3 separate regions of the Homo sapiens genome follow, and all the other regions are linked to region 2. Evidence: promoter capture Hi-C in 16 types of primary human blood cells and fetal thymus (Javierre and others, 2016). All regions are on one chromosome and are shown on one strand. Each heading gives the region's core, a stretch centred on a gene start or on the middle of the fragment in contact. The rest is flanking DNA. Distances are from core to core; before and after follow the strand shown. Region 1 overlaps LYPLAL1-DT (LYPLAL1 divergent transcript). Region 2 holds the start of RRP15 (ribosomal RNA processing 15 homolog). Region 3 overlaps LYPLAL1-DT (LYPLAL1 divergent transcript).

The links. The method cuts DNA at HindIII sites, captures the fragments that hold promoters and counts their contacts. A CHiCAGO score of 5 or more calls a contact.
Region 1: a contact is called between a fragment that was not itself captured here and the fragment with the promoter of RRP15 in region 2, in 1 of 17 cell types (non-activated CD4 T cells). The highest score is 5.0, in non-activated CD4 T cells.
Region 3: a contact is called between a fragment that was not itself captured here and the fragment with the promoter of RRP15 in region 2, in 1 of 17 cell types (total B cells). The highest score is 6.6, in total B cells.

What each region holds. Positions count from the first base shown.
Region 1 is chr1:219,157,597-219,161,112 of GRCh38, forward strand. All of the region lies in intron 1 of LYPLAL1-DT (LYPLAL1 divergent transcript), which reads right to left. Among named protein-coding and RNA genes, the nearest start is that of LYPLAL1-DT, 14 kb to the right of the region's middle. The HindIII fragment of the contact is 2,168 bases long and covers 477-2,644 here.
Region 2 is chr1:218,283,801-218,287,532 of GRCh38, forward strand. It overlaps RRP15 (ribosomal RNA processing 15 homolog), which reads left to right and starts at 1,493. Exons shown (of 5, transcript NM_016052.4): 1 at 1,493-1,655. The coding sequence starts at 1,517. RefSeq lists enhancers at 871-940, 1,471-1,750. The HindIII fragment of the contact is 12,027 bases long and covers 1-3,732 here.
Region 3 is chr1:219,088,860-219,092,542 of GRCh38, forward strand. All of the region lies in intron 3 of LYPLAL1-DT (LYPLAL1 divergent transcript), which reads right to left. Among named protein-coding and RNA genes, the nearest start is that of LYPLAL1-DT, 83 kb to the right of the region's middle. RefSeq lists an enhancer at 363-412. The HindIII fragment of the contact is 1,926 bases long and covers 775-2,700 here.

The sequences.
Region 1 (3,516 bases), core at 311-2,810, 870 kb after region 2:
CAGTCTAGGGCATTCTCACACTACCATACTCTGCATCATAATATCTTACCTCTGAAATAATTAACTTTCAATGTTTTAATATGTCATTTCTTGTCCTTTCATCTCTCTTATTCCTTCATTCCCACTAAATTGGCTCAGAGACCCCATTGAAGATCTACACACTTTATTGCCTCATCATTTTTCCTGTCTGTTTGCCCTTTCTGGCTTTAATTCTCTTACTATTTAAACCATACAGTACTACATCCTCGCCAGTCTCATTAATACCTCCACCCCACCTTGACTTCCTGCCTTGCTATTTCCAAAAACAGATCAATACGTTGTTTATTTCTTCTTTTTTTTTTCCCAGAAGCTATTGGTACAAATTTGATGACAATGTTGATTAGCTCCTTTAAATGTTCTGTTTGTATTTACAGTGAATTAGCAATTATTCCCTATTCTTACTCAGTTCTCTTTTCCTTTAAACCTCTATGTTTTTAAGCTTCTAATCTGTTTTCTATTTCTTTTATTCTCAGCAAATGGCCATTGCAGGGTGTAATCTATTCTCACATTCAGATTTACCTCTATTTCTTGACCCATTCTTCCCTTTCTAGTGTTAGAGGCAGCACAGCCCTGCTCTTCCAGGTTCTGGCTCCCTTCCCCTTTCATCTTTGAGTTCCTGCACATGATTGTTCTGTTTATTCTTCTCCTTTGCCTTCTTTTGTCAGTTTATAATAAGATAGCATCATCCACATATTTTAAAATACCTTTTTTTCCAGCCCTGTCTGTTCCTTGGCTTTACAAGTTAACTATTTAAAGGAATAGACTACACTCGCTGTGTACACTTTCTCATTCCAGATTCCCAACTCGAGTCACTGCAATCTGACCCTGAGTCCCACATTTCTACTGAACTTGCTCTCAGAAACTTTTCTGGTCACCTCTTCCTTACCTGCTAAATCCTATGGATTCATTTCATCCTTCTATAGCACCCCACAGTTGTTTACCTACATCTCAAAACAACTGTCTCCATTGCTTTCATGACATTCCACTATATTTCCTTCTACTTTCATGGTTCCTCCTGAGAGGTTTTCACTAATTTGTCTTCTTTGATCTAGCTTTTAAATGTGGGTTTAAAAAAATGATTTCTAAGTTATCTTTTCTTCTCCTACAAATTTTCTCCCCAAATGATTTTTCAATTCCTGTAGTTTTCTCTGATTCCTATATGCTAATGACTCTCAAAATTTATTTCTATCCCCAAACTGAGCTTTAGACCAAAATTCCCAGCTGTCACCAAATTCCCATTAACACCTCAAACCCACCGAAAGTTAAACTAATTATCTTCATTCTACACTTGCTTCTTCGTCTGTATTCTTTATACTTGTTAATATCTTCACCAGAACACTTTAAAATAGCCATTTTAGATTATTTCCTATACCTCATCCCCAAGTCAAATGGATAACAAAGTCCTATACCATTCAACCTTTCCAATCTGCCTTCTCTCCCATCCTTCTCAGTCTATTGAAGGGCTGGGTGTGGTGGCTCACGCTTATCATCCCAGCACTTTGGGAGGCTGAGGTGGGTGGATCACCCGAGGTCGGGAGTTTGAGATTAGCCTGGCCAACATGGTGAGACCCCCATCTCTAATAAAAATACAAAAGTTATCTGAGTGTGGTGGCACATGCCTGTAGTCCCAGCTACTCAGGAGGCTAAGGCAAGAGAATCGCTTGAACCTGGGGGGTGGAGGTTGCAGTGAGACATTGCACTCCAGCCTAGGCAAAAAAGCAAGACTCTGTCTCAAAAGAAAAAAAAAAAGAAAGAAAAAGAAAAAGATTACTAATGAGTGTCTTCTTATAGCCTCTCATTCACTCTTATTGTTATTTCTATGTGCCACAGCTAGCCTGTTACGTATATGAACATGTCACTCCTATGTTAAAAAAAAAAATAGAAAAAAGGCCTCTGATCTGAGTTTCTAAATCTTAGCCTGTCTTTTGTCTTCCTAAGTAAAAGTGTGGGCTACATATTAACGCTGGTCAAGAAGTCCAATGTATAACTTTTGCCCATGTGGATTTTATTTGAGTGATGGTACCTATTTTCTTCTATTGTTCAAACTACTGGGTGCTGTCTGTGAAACCACTTTATCCTCTTTCCAGATGCAGTTCTTTGTACTCAAAATGAGTCTTTCTCTGTAAATGGCTATATACCAGCCTCATTTTCCAGCTGCTGCTCTTTCCTTGTATCTCACAACCATGGCAAAAAGATAGAATTTGGGCATCAGTGAGTTCTCTTTAAGATGTCTCACTTATTTCTAAAGAATAATCCTTACACTTGGCATAAAAATTAGTGTTGCTACTTTTTAAAATGCCTGCTGAAATGTCCAATGTCCTAGTCTTCTATCTGGAATAAGATTATGATTACAGAGATTAAAAAAGCTCATTGAATTGAAGACAGCCCTGGAATTTCAAGATTATTTTAGAAGACATGCAATTGCTACTTTGCATTTTACATGTGCAAACAAAGCCATCAAGCCAATTAAGGCTGCTTTCAGTTCATTCTGATAGTACAGGAAGGTATTTATGTACTGTCAGTGCCAGCCTGGGCAGCGTGCAAGTCTTGACTCATAGATCTCCCCTCCCGCCCTGGCTGGAAAGATATCTGTGCATCTCTTTCAAGCTTGTTTAGGGTGTGTAAAGGCTCTTTCTTCGTCCACTCTACTTTCAATATAAAGTATTACTTAGAAGAAAGCTAAAAACCTGATTTTGTGTTGATAGTTAAGCCTTTCACACAACATAAATATAAGGAGTTTGATCAAGTTTACTTGTACTGTCTCACTCAAGATGTAGTTTTTAAAATGTTTTTAAAAATCTCCGCCTTGTTTGTCACATGTTAGAGTGTGTGTGAGAGCAGCAAAGAAGAAGCCAAGGATTAAGTTTGTCTTAAAACTTTTAGCTTGTAGTCAATCATTTCACTTTAATGTGCCACATCATGCTACAATAATTGTTTTAACCCATTTTCTGGTGACCATACCAAACCTTCAGTGAAATCAATTTAATTTTGTCATTTTGAAATTGCTCTCCAGAAAACAAGAGATATAAAGTTTTAAAGCAATTATACAAATAATTATGTCAAAATCCAACTGTTTAAGTGGAGTTTGAGCTTGTATTTTTCTCTAATGGCTCACATATTTGAATATATTTTTCTTGCAAGACACTCAGCTGTACATTTTGCAGGATATAAAAGTGCTTCGATTAAATGGGTCAATCAATTAATTAATAATTAATAACTTCCTACTTCACTCTTCTTCTAAATACAGAGCTGCTAATATTGCTTTAGGGGAGCCAAACACAATATACTGATAATTATTCCCATAGCTATTATTTCATATTATAGAGGTTTTGTAATACAACATCACAAAATTACAATGTCCTTTTTAAAAATCCCTTCCCCCACTCAAAAGAAAGCTATAAATTTAAGCCAATATAAACTTTTCAGAATTCTCTCTCTCAATGTCACACCAGGGCGTGGTGCTACACAGCTGGGGAG
Region 2 (3,732 bases), core at 243-2,742:
TTTTCTGCACAATTTTTTGTTGTTGGTGGTGGTGGTGGTAGATTTTGTTTGTTTGTTTTTGAGACAGAGTCTCGCTCTGTCGCCGAGGCTGGAGTGCAGAGTCGCGATCTCCGCTCACTGCAACCTCCGCCTCCAAGGTTCAAGCGATTCTCCTGCTTCAGCCTCCCGAGTAACTGGGACTACAGGCACTCGTCACTGCGTTTGGCTAATTTGTGTATTTTTAGTAGAGATGGGGTTTCACCATGTTGGCCAGGCTGTTCTCAAACTCCTGGACTCAAGCGATCCACTTATCTCAGCCTCCCAAAGTGCTGGGATTACAGGTGTGAGCCACCGCACCCGGCTAGACCCTCTCTCTCTTAAAAGACAAAAAAATTAAAAACCAAGTTTAAAAATGTTGTATTGAGTTTTTAGGATGTGAATATATATTTATTTCCTACATAAACATCTACTGGAATATGTCAAAATGAGGATTCTTGTTTTTGTTTTTGACTTATGGGTATCACAATCTATGAACCTCCTTAAGAGGGGAAAGGGAAAACGCTAAGTTTGGGGAAAGCCTTTAGAACAAGTCTAGCCAGTAAAGGTTTGCTGCATTATCCATCTGAGTCATTAACTTTGTCAATAGTTATATTCTGTCACTCATTCATTGATTCATTCATCCCTTCCAAAAATATTTTTGGAAAATTCACTTCAGGCCAACTTCTGTTGCTAACCTTGAGGGGACATGGTAAATGAAATACGTTCCCCTCCTGCGAGAAGCCAACATTTTAGGGGGGAAAATGAAGGCCGACTGTGGTAGGTGCTTCGATGGAACTAGGAGCTGGTGACAGAGGCTAACTTCAGAGAAAAGCTAGCCCCGGGTGGGAGGCAGGATCCTCGCGCGGATAGCAAGGTATTCGCACCCTCGGTCTGCACTGCGCAGTCGGGCGCCAGAAACCCTCCAGGCCCCAGCCGGGTCCGAGGGAGAAGGGTGCGGTTGGATTCAACACCCGCCCCAGGGAAAGAAGGTGAGTCTATTCGGTTTGCAAGAAAGGTCTCGCGTGTTATCTTGGGCGGGGGGATGATACGATCGTATTCTAATTATCGGCCCCCAGTGGATCTGTCCCGCGTCCTAGCTGCTGCGGCGTTCAGTGGGCACGTAAGAGACACCTGAGGAGGACACTAAACCAACATTAAGGCAGCAGACAAGGGAAGCCGCCGAGGCTAGGAAATCAAAGTGGACCGCGCTGGGCTGGGGACGGGCTGGGGACGCACTGGGGCGGAGGACCAGGGCACAGGCGAGCTAGCGGAGGAGTCGGCTGAGGCCATTCAGCCGCTGATTTTCGTCCTGGAACGGACTTCGCGTAAACACACCGAGCCATTCAGAGCTCTCTCCAAGTCACATTCTGAGGCTCCGGCCCCGGAACTCTGGGCTAGACGACCCCGCCCCGGAACCTTGTGTTACCGGCACTAAATGCAGAAGTTCCTCTGGTTGCCACCGGACGCAACTGTCAGGTGACGCTTCCGGCGCAGAAAAATGGCAGCCGCCGCTCCGGACTCACGTGTGAGTGAGGAAGAAAACCTGAAAAAGACCCCAAAGAAGAAGATGAAAATGGTAACTGGAGCCGTAGCGTCGGTGCTGGAAGACGAGGCCACAGACACTTCTGATAGTGAAGGTAATGTGGTAGGGCTGAGCTTTGGTGTCTGGGAGGAAAGGCGGGGCTGAGTTCGTGTCAAGCAGCGCTTGCGACTTCATTTGCTGCTAGCCACCTGGGTTTTATCTTGGCACCACTTCAGAGGGGCGACTTTGGCTTAGTGAGGAGGCTTGGGGAAGTCGTGTTCAGAGAAGTAACGCTGTCAACTGTAATTTTGAGTTTCCACATTCTTTTACTAGGTATTTTCAGGGTCACCATTATTAATTATAATAAAATGGGTGAAACACCTGCAGCTACCGAGAAACTTACAGTAGCAAAGGGTGAAAGGAAGAGGGTACTTGAAAACAGGAGAAGAATGGGTCTCATAGGGTGTAAGAAGCAAAAGGTTAAAAGAGGTAAGAGGAAGAAGGGGGTGTACTTGACTTTTTGTGCGGTAGATGTGTGCGTGTTTTAGAGACTAAATAATAGTGAATGAAAGAAGAGTTTGGTGGTTAAGGTCGATTAAAAACTGGTAGTGTTTGATAACTATGTCTCTCAGAGACGCTTGATAATAAAAGGAAGGAAGGATGTGTTTTTGAGGCTTTCAACCATGCTGTGTCTGTTGCTCCTCTTTACCATCATTCTTGGCACCAGCTTATTAGGTTACAAGGAATTGCAGGTAATCCCTGACTTCCTACTGCCCAGTTATTGCTCCTTTGTACCAGCTGATACCCAAAAAACAGACAGAGCTATTCTTTTATAACGTATTTCTAATTATGCCCGCTGTCTGTTTGAGATGATCCAGTGGCTTCTCATCTCAGTATATAATATCCAAAATCCTTAGGCTGTATGATTTGGGCCAGGTTGTCTGTCATAGGCCAATATGCCCCTCACAAACCACTAACTGTAATCATGCCATACCGGTATGCTTGTGTTTAACACCTTAAACATGCTCCCACACCATGGTTTCTTCATTTGTTGGCTCCGCTGCCTAGAATAGTTTTCAAATGCTTGGCATGTCTCTCCCTCACCAGCCTCTGATCCAGTGCCTTACCAGAGAGACTTGTCCCTGACTACCCTATGTAACGTACCACCACTACTCTTCTTCCTGCCTTCTTTTCTTCACTTTTTGACTTATTGCCCTGCTTTATTTTTTCTCAACCCTGCCCAAACCATTTGATGTATGTATTTGCTGCTTTCCCAATTGGAATATAAGTTCCATAAAAATAGAGCCTACTGTATCCCCAGTTCCTATTGCCTTGTGGGTCCTTCACAGATATTTAAGTAAATGAATGAATTAACCTGGACTTCCAGGACCAAGAAGAAAGTGTCATATGCTACTGCAATTCCTAGGTAATTAGAGTCTTCATCTCCTGCCACATTGTTAAGGAAAACAAACTATTTGTTGGGCCAAAATTAGAACTTCTGGTTCTGATATTTTTTAAATTCATTAGACTAGTTCAAACACTATTGTTCAAGAAGGGAAGAGTACTATATTTGCTATATTTGGAGCAAAATGTCAGTACTGCTTACAAATTGGATTTTTCTTTTTCTTTTTGAGACAGGGTCTTGCTTTGCCACCCAGGCTAGAGTGCAGTGGCACAAACAGGGCTCACTGCAACCTTGACCTCCTCCCCCACCGCCCCCCAAAGCGATCCTCTTGCTTCAGCTTCCCCAGGTAGCTAGGACTACAGGCGCATACCACTGTACCTGGCTAATTTTTTTTTTCTTTTTTTTTTTTTTTTTTGGTAGAGATGGGATTTTGCCATGTTGCCCAGGCATGTCTCGAACTCCTAGGTTCAAGTGATCCACCCGTCTCGGCCTCCCAAAGTGCTGAGATTACAGGTGTGAGCCAGCACACCTGGCCAAATTGGATTTTTCTATTCAAATACTGGATAATTCCAAGTTGGAACTGTTCTGACTTTTCAGCGTATTATTATAAATGCTGATTAGGTTTTAAGGTTCTCTTGCTGTTATAGATCAGCCACATTACGGGTTAAAAAGGTTTTTGGCCAATATGGAAACCTAATTTATCTAATTCAATTCAATGAACACTTGTTGTGTTCCCTTAGGTTCCAGTCACCCTCTAGGTGTTGAGGATACAAAGGATGAATATATT
Region 3 (3,683 bases), core at 488-2,987, 810 kb after region 2:
ACTACCATGGGCCAAAGCACTCTGGGATACTACATAAACCTCAAAGGCAGTCTAGGCGACAAGGACTGCAATTCCTGGGCAAGTCTTGGTGCGTGCTGGGCTAGAAGGCAGTAGACTTGGGTTGACCTAATGAGACACCAGCCAGGTGGACAAGGGAGTGCTTGCATCACCCCTCCCCCAACCCAGGCAGTGCAGCTCAGTAACCTGGGGGAGACTCCTTCCTTCCGCTGGCAGTAACTAGGCAGTGGTCACCATGGGTCTTGAGCAAGACCCAGTGCTGTGCTATCTTTGGGTGTGACTCAGCACAGTCTCAGTGTGGTAGTCACAGTGGAGCTTGCATCACCCCTCCACAAGAGGAGTACAAGCAAGTGCAGACTGCAAATATTACAATAAATATCTAACTATTCAATGCCCAGACACTCACAAACATCCAAAAGCATCAGGACCATTCAGGAAATCATGACCTCACTAAACAAACTGAAAAAGTCACCACTGATCAATCCAAGAGTGACAGAAAATTCAAAATAGAAATTTTGAGGAAGCTCAATGAAATTTAAGATAACACAGAGAAGGAATTCAGAATCCTATCAGATAAATTTAACGAAGATACTGAAATAATTTTTGAAACATGTAGAAATTCTGAGCTGAAAAATTGAATTGACATACAGAAGAATGCATCAGAGTCTCCCAACAGCAGAACTGATCAAGCAGAAGAAAGAATCAGGCTATTTGAAAATACACAGTCAAAAGAAACAAAAGAATAGAAAAGAATGAAGCTTGCCTATAAGTTCTAGAAAATATCTCAAAAGGGCAAATTAAGATTTACTGGCCTTAAAGAGGAGGTACAGAGATCAAGGTATAAATTTTATTCAAAGAGATAATAACAGATAACTTTTCAAACCTAGAGAAATATATCAAAATTCAAGTATAGATGGGTTGTAGAACATCAAGTAGATTTCATCCAAATAAAACTACCTCAAGACATTTAATAATCAAACTTCCAAAGGTCAAGGATAAAGAAAGGATTCTAAAAGCAGCAAGAGAAAAGACACAAATAACATACCTTACAATCTAGGAGAGAGTGGCATTACATATTTAAAGTGCTGAAGGAAAAAAGACTTTTATCCTAGAAGAGTACACCCAGTGAAAATACCCATTAAACATGAAGAAGAAATAGGCTTTCCCAGACAAACAAAAGCTGAGGGATTTCATCAACACCAGAACTGCCCTACAAGAAATGCTAAAGGGAGCTGTTCAATCTAAAATGAAAGGACACTAATGAGCAATAGGAAGTCATCTGAAGGTACAAAACTCACTGGTAATAGTAAGTACACAAACAAACACACAATATTATAACACTGTAATTGTGGTACGTGAACTATTGATATCTTGAATACGAAGACTAAAAGATAAACCTATCAAAAATAATAACTACAACTTTTAAGACATAGTATAATAAAACGTAGATGGAAGCAACAAAAAGTTAGAAAGCAGGGGGATTAAGTTAAAGTGTAGAGCTTTTATTAGTTTTCTCTTTCGTTGTTGTGAGTTTGGATTGTTTTGTATCCAGTGCTAAGTTGTGATCAGTTTAAAATAATGAGTTCTAAGATGTTATTTCCAAACCTCATGGTCACCTCAAATCATAAAACCTACAACAGATACACAAAAAACTGAAAATCAGTAAATTAAAACAACCCACCAAAAAAAATTAACTTCCCAAAAAGGAATACAGGGAAGAAGGAAGGAAGAAAGAGAAGAGCACACATAAAACACCCAGAAAACAAATAACAAAATGGCAGTAGTAAGTCCTTACTTACTAATAATAACATTGAATGTAAATGGACTAAACTCTCCAATCACAAGACATAGAGAGCCTGAACAATAACAATAATAAAAAAACAAGCTCTAACAATCTGGTAACTATAAGAAACACGCTTCACTTATAAAGACTAACTTAGACTTAAAATATAGGAACTGAAAAATATTGCATGAAAATGGAAACAAAAAAAGCAGAAGTAGCTATATTTACATCAGACAAAATAGATTTCAAAACAAAAACTATAAACAGAGACAAAGAAGGTCATTATATAATGATAAAGAAGTCAACTTAGCAAGAGGGTGTAACACTTGTAAATATATATACATTCAACACTGGAACACTCAAACATATTAAGTAAATATTATTAGAGCTAAAGAGAGAGATAGACCCTAATACAATATTAGCTGGAGACTTCAACACCCCACTTTCAGCATTGGACAGAACCACTACACAGAAAACCACCACCAACAACAACATTGGACTTAATCTACATTATATACCAAATGGACCTAATATATATTTACACAATCTTTCATTTAAGAGCTGCAGAATACACGTTCTTCTCCTCAAGGCATGGCTCATTCTTAAGGATAGATCACATGTTAGAACAAAAAACAAGTCTTAAAAAATTAAAAAATTGAAAAAATATCAAGTGTCTCATCTTTCCAGTTTTATTCTCAATGGAATAAAACTAGAAATAAATAATTAGAAAAATATCAGAAACTATACAAACACATGGAAAATAAACAATATGCTCTAGAGTGACCAGTGGGTCAATGAAGAAATTAAGAATAAAATTTAAAAATTCCTTGAAACAAACAAAAATGGAAACACAATATATCAAAACCTATGGAATGCAGCAAAAGCAATACTAAGAAGAAAGCTTATAGCAATAAGCACTCCACATCAAAAAAGCAGATAATCCTCAAATTAACAACCTAATGATGCATCTTAAAGAACTAGAAAACAAAGAGCAAACCAAAGCCAATATTAGTAGGAGAAAAGAAATAATAAAGATCAAAGCAGAAATAAATGAAATTGAAACAAAACAAACAATACAAAATATCAATTAAACAAAAAGGTGGCTTATTTTAAAAAAATAAAATTGATAAACATTTAGCCAAAGACATAAAGATAGAAGACCCAAATAAATAAAATGAGAGATAAAAAGGAGGTATTACAACTGATACTGCAGTTCAGAGAATCATTAGAGACTACTATGAGCAACTACATGCCAGTAAATTGGAAAACCTAGAAGAAATAGATTGAATCCTAGACACATACAACCTACCAAGACCGAATCATGAAGATTTCCAAAATCTAAATAGACCAATAACAAGTAATGAGTTCAACACCATATTAAAAAGTATCCCAGTAAAGAAAAATCAGAGACCCAAAGCCTTCAACTGCTAAATTTCACCCAAAATTTAAAGAACTAATATTAATCTAATCCTATTCAAACAATTCCAAAAAAATAAAGAAGCAAATACTTCCTTACTCATTCTGTGAGGCCAGTATTACCCTGATACCAAAATCAGACAGAGACATCAAAATAAGAAAACTACAGGCCAATGTTCCACATGAATACTGATGCAAAAATCCTCAACAAAATACTCACAAACCAAATTCAACAACACATTTAAAAGATAATTCATCATGACCAAGAGGGATTTATGCCAGGGATGCAAGAATGATTCAGCAAATGCAAATAAATCAATGTGATATATCATTTCAAAAGAATGAAGGACAAAAACATGCAATCATTTCAACCGAAGGTAAAAAGCATTAGATAAAATTCAACCTCCTTTCATAATAAAAGCCCTAAAAATGTGGTATAGAAGTATATATCTCAACACAATAAAAA